Linked DNA regions of Homo sapiens: region 2 is linked to region 1. Evidence: promoter capture Hi-C in human tissues and cell types (Jung and others, 2019). All regions are on one chromosome and are shown on one strand. The core of a region is centred on a gene start or on the middle of the fragment in contact, and the rest is flanking DNA. Distances in the headings are between cores, read along the strand shown. Region 1 holds the start of THBS2 (thrombospondin 2). Region 2 has its middle 35 kb from the start of LINC02519.

Region 1 (5,531 bases), core at 1,679-4,178:
TCCCATGGTTCTGGAGTCCAGCAGTTTTAAATGCAGTGTGTGGCAGGGCTGCACGTCCTCGGAATGTTCTGGCAGAGGCCCCTTCCCTGTCTCCCACAGTTCTGGTGTTTCTGGCAGCCCTTGGTGACCTTGGCTAGTGGTTGCATCACTGTGGTCTCTGCCTCTTTCATCAAGCGGAGCTCGCCCTGTGTCTCCGTCTTCATATTCTTTATTCTTATTAGAACACTAGCCATTAGATTTGGAGCCTGTCCTACATCAGTTCGACGACATCTACACTTGATTTCATCCACAAGCACTGTGGTATTTCCAGTAAGCTCATTCACAGGTTTGGGGTGGATGTGAACTTGGGGGGACATGATTCCACCTGCTGCGTGTCTGTCCCTCATCCTCCCGCGCACACATGTGATGATGCTTCCCTCAGCATCGCTGGCTTTCCTGACGAAGCCTCTGACTGCTTTTTGTTTCATCCTCACATCTCCCTTCCTCCTCACCCCCAGGGGGCCCAGGGAAGATGCTGACCAGGGGCTGTCCCCTCTACTCCCCCTCTGGTCCCCTGCACAGTGGGCCCATGAAGTCCCGCCTCACCCTGCCAGGAAACTCTCTGTGACTTCCATCGTCTATGAAGCCCATTCCATGCACCTGGCCTGGGTGCCGCACCAGGAGCCTGCTGTTCTTTGCACCATGAACACCTACCCACTCTCTCTGCCTGAAATACTTTCTCAACTGGGGACACCCCATTCACGGGCCATGTTCCAATCGGCTTACCTTCTGTCTCCTCTAAACAGACTTCCCTGATTCTGGGCTGCCAGATTTTACAGAAGGAGGCCCATCTTCTCTGTACCTGCCCATCGGCACGTGGAGTCATGAATACATACCTTCCTGCTCCCCAGTGAGTGTCACGGTCTTCACCGCATGCTCCTGAAGTGCTGAGCAGCTGAGCTGCCTGTCTTCAGCTTTAATCAGGAAACACGCATTCTGTGGACTGAGGAACAGGAGAGGCCGTGGCACGCAGAGTAGGGGATGCCGCCCTCCATGTTCTGGCCCCAGGAAAAACTAACCTGGAGGCAGAAAAACTCAAACTGATGAATGGATAATTATCCACTGAAAATTCTTTAAGGGGAACTGGTTTATACTTTTTTTGAATTTGAGATAACATCAATCTATTTAAACTACTTTTTAATTCAAATGATGACTTTGTCCCTAATAGCTTAAAAAGCAAAATAACGTACCTTAAACATGACACATACACTCTTGGAGGCTTTTGTCTGTGCATGTGTCGGAAACTGATGTTTGCCAAGTGATAAATAAACAGGTGCCATTAGGAAAAACAGAGGTTTTCACAAATGAAAGCTCCTTCCCTCTCCCACACCCGCTCGCATATCCTCCCTGAAGACAGAGGCCAGAAAGTGAGGCTTGCTCTTCATGGTGCCTGCCGACCTCTGCAGCGCTGGACCCCTGTGGGGGAATGCCAGGAGGCTTAAGAGACACTCCCCTGCCACAGACACAGTAAGGGTTGTGTCCACAGAAATTCGCTTTAATGTTCTCTAACTAGGACTTGACGGATCCATGGCCAGGCTGACAACTCCACACAAACGTGAAGGAACCTGACAGGCAGGTGCCGACATGAAGCAGGTGCAGGTGGCTCCGGGCAAAGCAGCAGCTCCCCAGTCACCATCCACCCCACCTGGGGAAGTAGCACCTCCCCCATCCAAGGTCCACCCCAACCCAGGAGAAGCAGCAGCTCCCCTGTCTGCCATTAACCCTGACCTGGGAGAAACAACACATCCCCAGCCACCTTGCACACTGACCTGGGAGAAACAGCCTCTCCACCATCCACCTTTCACACTGGCCTGGGAGAAGTGGCACCTCCCCCATCCACTGTCCAGCCCAACTTGGGAGAAGCAGCCCCTCCCCCATGTACCATCAACCCCCACCTTAGAGCAGCAGCTTCCCCTTTCCACTGTATACCCTGACCTGGGAGAAGCAGCCCCTCCGCATCCATCGTCCACCCTGACCTCTGAGAAGCGGTGCCCCCCACCCCCATGCAGAGTGCACCCTGATTGCGGGTGATGCCTGAGGTGTGGGAGGGGCGGGGGTTAGCTGCTGCCACTGCTTCTCGTTCTCTCGAGTCCTTGCTCTGTGCCTGCACGTCAGGTTGTTCCTGTGATGGGGCCACGTGCAAGTGTGCACCAAGGGGACTTGGCCGGGTACTGTACGTCCACTGGGACACACCCTTCTACGGGTATTGCACGTCCACTGGGAGACGTCCTTCTAGGGGATCCTCACTGAGCAAATGAAGCAGAATTTGGGTAAAAATGAATTTTCCCAAAGCTGCAGTACAGCTTTTCAGTCCTCTAACTGCCTGAGATAAATGTTGGCAACTTCCTTTTATATTAAATTTCATTTTTGTCACATAATACACTTGATTATTGACCATAATAACTTTATTAATATACAGACTGATTATTGATACTCACCGATGTATTTCATGTGTTATTGAGAGTCACTCATTTGGTTTAGAAAGACCAATATCACATTGAGTAATTCGAAACATATTTAAGGCATAGAACTTGCATTTTTTTCTCTTAAGCAAAATGAGGAGTTCTAGCCAATCTTGCTAGTGTTATTTATAGCATCTTATTTCCTGAGAGAAGACAGGAAAAGTGAGTCCCTGCCTTCCCTCTCTCCGTCTGGCTCCTCCCAGGCCTGTCTGGCAGGGGCCGGGGTGCAGGAGGAGGAGACGGCATCCAGTACAGAGGGGCTGGACTTGGACCCCTGCAGCAGGTACTCGGAGCAAATGGTGAGATCAGAAGGGGGATGATGTCATTCCTTCGAAGGAATGAATTAAACGTGCTTCCTCGTGTGTCTGATTGACAGCCCTGCACAGGAGAAGCGGCATATAAAGCCGCGCTGCCCGGGAGCCGCTCGGCCACGTCCACCGGAGCATCCTGCACTGCAGGGCCGGTCTCTCGCTCCAGCAGAGCCTGCGCCTTTCTGACTCGGTCCGGAACACTGAAACCAGTCATCACTGCATCTTTTTGGCAAACCAGGTACGATTATTTCTTAAACTCAATCAATTATTTAATGGTGCTCTAATTTTAAGAAATTAGAGTTCTCGAACTCTAAGAAGCGGAGAAGAAAAAGGAGCAATTTCGATTCTTAACTTAAGGTGGGTGGTGTATCTATTAACACTAAATGGCAAGTGTTTCTTCACGTGGTGTTTCTACTGCCCGCTTGAAGAGCAAGGCACGTGGCCGCTCCTCAGCTTTTCCTCCGTGGCTGTGCTTTCACCAGCCGGGCACCCCTTCCTCTCTGAGGGTTGTGGCTGCTGCTATTTCAATGTATATACCTGCCTGGGAACCCGGGTAAACGCTTTATGTTTTCAGTTTCCGAAGAAGAAGATTCCACATGAGAGTTTGTTATTGAGGAGAGAATTAGAAACAACTCCCGGAATATCTGAAAAGTAACTGGAGATTAGAGAGAGACTCTGATTGTTAACATCATTATTAGTAGATTAGAGAGAGACTCTGATCGTTAACATTATTAGTAGATTAAAGAGAGACTCTGATTGTTAACATTATTAGTAGATTAAAGAGAGACTCTGATTGTTAACATTATTAGCAGCTGAAAAGTGGTTTTGAACATAACTAGAGAGTATTTGTGGTAAGTCTATGGAAAATCCTGTGACTGCCGGGACACACAGCGACTTTTAACAGTCTTGGGGCAGTTTGCATATGAAAAGCGAGCTGGCAGGTTGCCTGGCTACCACTTAAGGAAGGTGGGTTTGGCTGCCCAGGACTGGGAGCTGAGCACCCAGGAGTCTGGTGTTTAATCAGACTGCTGTTGGTGGTGGACGGCCGGTAAACAATTAGCTCTCTGCAAAGCTATCTTTTACTTTGATTGTTCATACGAAAAGAGTTTTAAAAGACCTTTGCAAATTCAAACTACATTCTGCTGCAGACAGGCACCGAAATCTTTCTTTTGGAAAAACACAAGCATAAACGTGGATGTGTGGCGTGCAGAGGCTGGGGCAGGGGTGAGCGGCACTGGCTCATCCGTGGCTCCATCCATGCATGCCCGGTGTCCCTGGATGGGCTGAGGCCAGGTAGCCTGGCTGCTCATCCTTCCTGTGGGATGGAGCCTCACTGTCCTTTGACAATCCGCAGCAGGGGATGCTTTGTTAGCCTCCTGCTCTTGTAAGAATCTACCTCAAGGCAGAGACAGTAGGATCTGGTTTCGTCAAAGGAGTTTGATTTAGTTTTTCTAACCTGTCCTTATGAAGCTGGGCATCCAGAACTTTCGCATTTACCATCCTGTTCTTGGCTGGCCTCTGCAGGGCCAGCCCCACACAGCTGTCCTTAGGGGACTGCGACGTACCCGGCAGTGTGGGCTGATGAGGTGGGGAGGTGGGAAGAGCCTGCCAAGGCTGTACCTGAGCTGTGTATTCTAACACCGTTCTGTGGTGCTTACTGCATGCAGGTACTGTTCTAAGCTCATGGCCAAGTGTTCGCTCCTGTCATTAAACCCTCTTAAGAGCTCCATAGAAAGGCCCTATCAGCACCACCATTATTACTGCAGCTGCCTCGGGCAGTTAGAGTAGAAAGCGCCCCAGACCCAGAGGCACATTCTGCTCCGGTAACCCATGCCTGTGGCTCGCTGGGCTAAGTCAGCCCCTGGTGAAGTTTCATTTGCCGAATTCATCTCTCATGACAACCCGATGAGGTGGGCATTTTACATGACGCTACGTTTCATTCTACGGATGAGGAAACTGAGACAGAGAAGTTAAGTAAGTTTCCCTAGGTTGCACAGCTGGTGCTCAGCATTGCTCAGCCTGGTGCTGACTCCGGCCGCAGGCCGTGCTGCTTCCGGAGCCAGGACAGATGAAACAATCACCAAGGACCCCTGGGGCGGCACTGGGGGGAGCAGATGGTTTGGGGGGGGGGTCCCAGCAGCAGATGGGTGGGGGGTCTGCAGGTGCTGCCAAGCATTTCTCTTCTTCTGAGGAATGTTTCTCTATTCCTGGAAGGTGAGGATTTCCAGGTTACCAAATGTTGTTTCTGGAGAGGGAGAGTCCTTGGATTAACAATGAGAAGTTAACGGCCTTTGATATTCTAAATATGGGAAGAATTGGGGTCTCAGTCTTCCCTTCAACCTAGAGCAGGGTGTGACCAATTGCTGGAAGGGACCTGGGGAGCCCTGGGACCCTCAGGCTCATGCTCGCCCGGAAGAGGAGAAGCTGAGATCCACAGGGTTAATCGCCCAGCCGGGCTTTGGACCACATCTCCTGACTTCGGGGCCAGCCTCCACTGAGCTGTGCCAACTTAAAATCCCCAAGAATGGAAAAACAGGCCTGCAGGAAAATAAAGAGGCAGGGTCAAAATGATGGCTAAGTCAAGTGTTCTGTTGTTTTGTAAGTATAATTCACCAAATTAAGTTTATTTGTAACTTTTTTTTACAGTTGATATTCATTCTATTTAATTAGGTTATGCATAACTGTTTTTTGCTGGATATTTACACAAAATGCGTTCACA
Region 2 (5,531 bases), core at 1,448-3,947, 100 kb before region 1:
GATTAACCATAAAACTAACAATGCTGAAACTTGAGGACCTTCCCCAGAACTGCTGGGCCTCCAGCAGCATGATGCATAGGTTTTTGTGAAATTTTCAAAAGATTTTTAACTGCAATCAGCAAAAACGATTGTCTCTCTCAGTCCAACTTCCCAGCAGTCAAATTTCCCACAGTGGCAAATGATGTCAGAATTGCTACAGCATCTTTTGAGTCTGTCTAAGGGGAAGTAGAGCCATGGGTGCATTTGGTTCAGAGTTAGTGGAGTACGTGTATATGGTCATAGTCACTTCTGTGTTCTGATAGTGAAATGGTTTTGAAAACTACTCCAATAACCCACTCTGCTGACTTACCCAGCATCTTGGTGTTGCAGGAAATCAGGGACCCCGAATGGAGGGACTGGCTGGAGCCGCGGCAGAGGAACATAAATTGTGAAGATTTCATTTTAATATGGACATTTATCAGTTCCCAAATAATACTTTTATAATTTCTTATGCCTGTCTTTACTTCAGTCTATTAATCCTGTTATCTTTGTAAGCTGAGGATGTAGGTCACCTCAGGACCACTGTGATAATTGTGTTACCTGTACAAATTGATTATAAAACATGTGTGTTTGAACAATATGAAATCAGTGCACCTTGAAAAAGAACAGAATAACAGCGATTTTTAGGGAACAGAGGAAGACAACCATAAGGTCTGACTGCCTGCGGGGTTGGGCAAAAATAGCCATATTTTTCTCCTTGCAGAGAGCCCATAAATGGATGTGCAAGCAGGAGAGATATTGCTAAATTCTTTTCCTAACAAGGAATATTAATATTAATACCCTGGGAAAGGAATGCATTCCTGTGGGGAGGTCTATAAATGGCTGCTCTGGGAAATATCTGTCTTGTGCAGTTGAGATAAGGACTGAGATATGCCCTGGTCTCCTGCAGAACCCTCAGGCTTACTAGGGTGGGGAAAAACTCAGCCCTAGTAAATTTGTGGTCAGACTGGTTCTCTGCTCTCGAAACCTGTTTTCTGTTGTTTAAGATGTTTATCAAGACAATATGTGCACCGCTGAACATAGACCCTTATCAGTGGTTCTGCTTTTGCCCTTTCCCTTGTGATCTTTGTTGGACCCTTATCAGTAGTTCTGCTTTTGCCCTTTGCCTTACGATCTTTGTTGGATCCTTATCAGTAATTCTGCTTTTGCCCTTTGTCCTGTTCCCTCAGAAGCATGTGATCTTCGTTAGACCCTTATTAGTAGTTCTGCTTTTTGCCCTTTGAAGCATGTGATCTTTGTACCTACTCCCTGTTCTTACACCCCTCCCCTTTTGAAACCCTTCATAAAAACTTGCTGGTTTGAGGCTCAGGTGGGCATCATGGTCCTACCGATATGTGATGTCACCCCCGGCAGCCCAGCTGTAAAATTCCTCTCTTTGTACGGTCTGTCTTTATTTCTCAGCCCACTAACACTTATGGAAAATAGAAAGAACCTATGTTGAAATATTGGGGGCTGGGTTCCCCCAATATCATGGTACAAAGTTGCATGACCTTATGGTCATTTATGAAGAAATAAGAAAACAAAATGTAGCCAAAAACTGAAGTTAAAGTATTATAAAGGTGTGCTGTGCACTTTAACAATTTTTAAAAATGCTATTTTCTTGAATTTTGTGATGCCTGTGGTAACTATCATATTTAAAATATTTAATTTATCATAAATTATTTTCTTACTCTAAATAAATGTTCTCAACTCTTTATAATTTTATGCATGCAATTTTCATAGAGAGTTCTCCAAGTTGTACAACATTTAAGCCCGCAAAACCTGGGATCTCACTTCTGTTAAAAATTATAAAAATTGAGGTGGCTGGCAAGATGGCTGTATAGGAAGAGCTCCAGTCTGCAGCTCCCAGTAACATCAATGCAGAAGGCAGGCAATTTCTGCATTTCCAACTGAGGTACCTGGCTTATCTCACTGGGGCTAGTTAGACAGTGGGTACAGCCCACGGAGGGTGAGCTGAAGGAGGGTGGGGTGTCGCTTCACCCGGGAAATGCAAGGAGTCGGGGAACTCCCTCCCTTAGCCAAGGGAAGCGGTAAGGGACTGTGCCATGAGGAATGGTGCATTCCAGCCCAGATACTATGCTTTTCCCACGGTCTTCACAATCTGCAGACTAGGAGACTCCCTCATGTGTCTACACCACCAACGTCCTGGGTTTCAAGCACAAAACTGAGCGGCTGTTTGGGGAGACACTGAGCTAGCTGCAAGAATTTTTTTTCATACCCCAGTGGCTCCTGGAAAGCCAGCAAGACAGAACCATTTGCTCCCCTGGAATGGGCGCTGAAGCCACGGAGCCAAGTGGTCTAGCTCAGCAGATCCCACCCCCACAGAGCCCAGCAAGCTAAGATCTACTAGCTTGAAATTCTCCCTGCCAACACAGCTGTCTGAAGTTGACCTGGGACTCTTGAGCTTCTTGGGGGGAGCGGCGTCTGCCATTACTGAGGCTTGAGGAGGCAGTTTTTCCCTCATGGTGTAAACAACGCTGCTAAGAAGTTTGAGTTGGGCAGAGCCCACTGCAGCTCAGGAAAGCCGCTGTAGCCAGACTGCCTCTCTAGATTCCTCCTCTCTGGGCAGGGCATCTCTGAAAGAAAGGCAGCAGCCCCAGTCAGGGGCTTATCTGGGACAGAGCACCTGGGGGAAGGGGCAGCTCTGGGCACAGCTTCAGCAGACTTAACCATTCCTGTCTGCCAGCTCTGAAGACAGCAGCGGATCTCTAAGCACAGCGCTCGAGCTCTGCTAAGGGACAGGCTGCCTCCTTAGGTGAGTCCCTGACCCCTGTGCCTCCTGACTGGGAGACACCTCCCAGCAGGGCTCAACAGACACCTCATACAGGAGAGCTCCAGCTGGCATTTGGTGGGTGTCCTGCTGGGACAAAGCTTCCAGAGGAAGGAACAGGCAGCAATCTTTGCTCTTCTGCAACCTCCGCTGGTGATACCCAGGCAAAAAACAGGGTCTGGAGTGGACCTCCATCAAACTCCAGCAGACCTGCAGTAGAGGGGCCTGACTGTGAGAAGGAAAACTAATAAACAGAAAAGAATTGCATTGACATCAACAAAAAGGGCGTCCACACAAAAACCCCATCTGAAGGTAACCAACATCAAAGACCAAAGGTAGATAAATACACAAAGATGAGGAAAAGCCAGTGCAAAAAGGCTGAAAATTCCAAAAACCAGGACACCTCTTCTCCTCCAAAGGATCACACCTCCTTGTCGGCAAAGGAACAAAACTGGACAGAGAATGAGTTTGACAAACTGATAGAAGTAGGCTTCAGAAGGTGGGTAATAACAAACTCCTCTGAGCTAAAGGAGCATGTTCTAACCCAATGAAAGGAAGCCAAAAACCTTGAAAAAAGAGGAATTGCTAACTAGAATAACCAGTTTAGAGAAGAACATAAATGACCTGATGGAGCTGAAAAACACAGCCCAAGAACTTCATGAAGCATACACAAGTATCAATAGCTGAATCGATCTAGCAAAAGAAAGGATATCAGAGATTGAAGATCAACTTAATGAAATAAGGTGTGAAGACAAGATTAGAGAAAAAAGAATAAAAAGGAATGAACAAAGCCTCTAAGAAATATGGGACTATGTGAAAAGACCAAACCTACGTTTGATTGGTATACCAGAAAGTGATGGGGAGAATGGAACCAAGTTGGAAAACACTCTTCAGGATATTATCTAGGAGAACTTCCCCAGCCTAGCAAGACAGGCCCACATTCAAGTTCAGGAAATACAGAGAACACCACAAAGATACTCCTTGAGAAGAGCAACCCCAAGACACATAATCGTCTGATTCACCAAGGTTGAAATGAAGGAGAAAAATGTTAAGGGCAGCCAGAGAGAAAGATCAGGTTACCCACAAAGGGAAGCCCATCAGACTAACAGCAGATCTCTCTGCAGAAACCCTACAATCCAGAAGAGAGTGGGGGCCAATATTCAACATTCTTAAAGAAAAGAATTTTCAACCCAGAATTTCATATCCAGCCAAACTAAGCTTCATAAGTGAAGGAGAAATGAAATCCTTTATATACAAGCAATTCCTGAGAGATTTTGTCCCCACCAGGCCTGCCTTACAAGAGCTCCTGAAGAAAGCACTAAATATGGAAAGGAAAAAACAGTACCAGGCACTGCAAAAATATACCAAATTGTAAAGACCATCAACACTATGAAGAAACTGCATCAACTAATGGGCAAAATAACCAGCTAGCATCATAATGACAGGATCAAATTCACACATAACAATATTAACCTTAAATGTAAATGGGCTGAATGCCCCAATTAAAAGACACAGACTGGCAAATTGGATAAAGAGTCAAGACCCATCAGTGTGCTGGATTCAGGAGACCCATCTCATGGGCAAAGACACACATAGGCTCAAAATGAAGGTGTGGAGGAATATTTACCAAGCAAATGGAAAGCAAAAAAAGCAGGGGTTGTAATCCTAGTCTCTGATAAAACAGACTTTAAACCAACAAAGATCAAAAAAGACAAAGAAGGGCATTATATATTGGTAAAGGGATCAATGCAACATGAAGAGCTAACTATAATAAATATATATGCATCCAATACATGAGCACCCAGATTCATAAAGCAAGTTCTTAGAGACCTACAAAGAGACTTAGATTCCCACACAATAATACTGGGAGACTTTAACACCCTACTGTCAATATTAGACAGATCAACAAGACAGAAAATTAACAAAGATATTTAGGAAGTGAACTCAGCTCTGGACCAAGTGGACCTAATAGACATCTACATAACTCTCCACCCCAAATCAACAGATATACATTCTTCTGAGCACCACATTTCACTTATTCTAAAATTGACCACATAATTGGAAGTAAAACACTCCTCAGCAAATGCAAAATAATGGAAATCATAACAAACATTGCCTCAGACCACAGTGCAATCAAATTAGAACTCAGGATTAAGAAACTCACTCAAAACCACACAACTACATGGAAACTAAACAACTTGCTCATGAATGACTACTGGGTAAATAACGAAATAAGGGCAGAAATAAAGAAGATCTTTGAAACAAAGACACAATGTACCAGAATCTGTGGGACACAGTTAAAGCAGTGTTTAGAGGGAAATTTATAGCACTAAATGCCCACAAGGGAAAGTGAGAAAGATATAAAATCGACACCCTAACATCACAATTAAAACAACTATAGAAGTTAGAGCAAACAAATTCAAAAGCTAGCAGAAGACAAGAAATAACTAAGATCAGAGCAGAACTGAAGGAGATAGAGACATGAAAAACCCTTCAAAAAAATCAATGAATCGAGGAGCTGGTTTTTTGAAAAGATTAACAAAATAGATAGAACGCTAGCCAGACTAATAAGGAAGAAGGGAGAGAAGACTCAAATTGACACAATAAAAAATGATAAAGGGGAGATCACCACTGATCCCACAGAAATACAAACTACCATCAGAGAATACTATAAACACCTCTATGCAAATAAACTGGAAAATCTAGAAGAAATGGATAAATT

Evidence for each region. The method cuts DNA at HindIII sites, captures the fragments that hold promoters and counts their contacts. A contact is called where the count stands out against the background at its distance.
Region 2: a fragment that was not itself captured here is called in contact with the fragment with the promoter of THBS2 in region 1 in 2 of the 25 tissues and cell types used here (aorta and bladder).

The regions. Positions count from the first base shown.
Region 1 is chr6:169,251,243-169,256,773 of GRCh38, reverse strand. THBS2 (thrombospondin 2) reads left to right here and starts at 2,928. Exons shown (of 22, transcript NM_003247.5): 1 at 2,928-3,050. RefSeq lists enhancers at 3,342-3,853, 3,854-4,366, 4,879-5,392. The HindIII fragment of the contact is 15,923 bases long and covers 1-5,531 here.
Region 2 is chr6:169,350,625-169,356,155 of GRCh38, reverse strand. No RefSeq gene overlaps it. Among named protein-coding and RNA genes, the nearest start is that of LINC02519, 35 kb to the left of the region's middle. The HindIII fragment of the contact is 4,542 bases long and covers 427-4,968 here.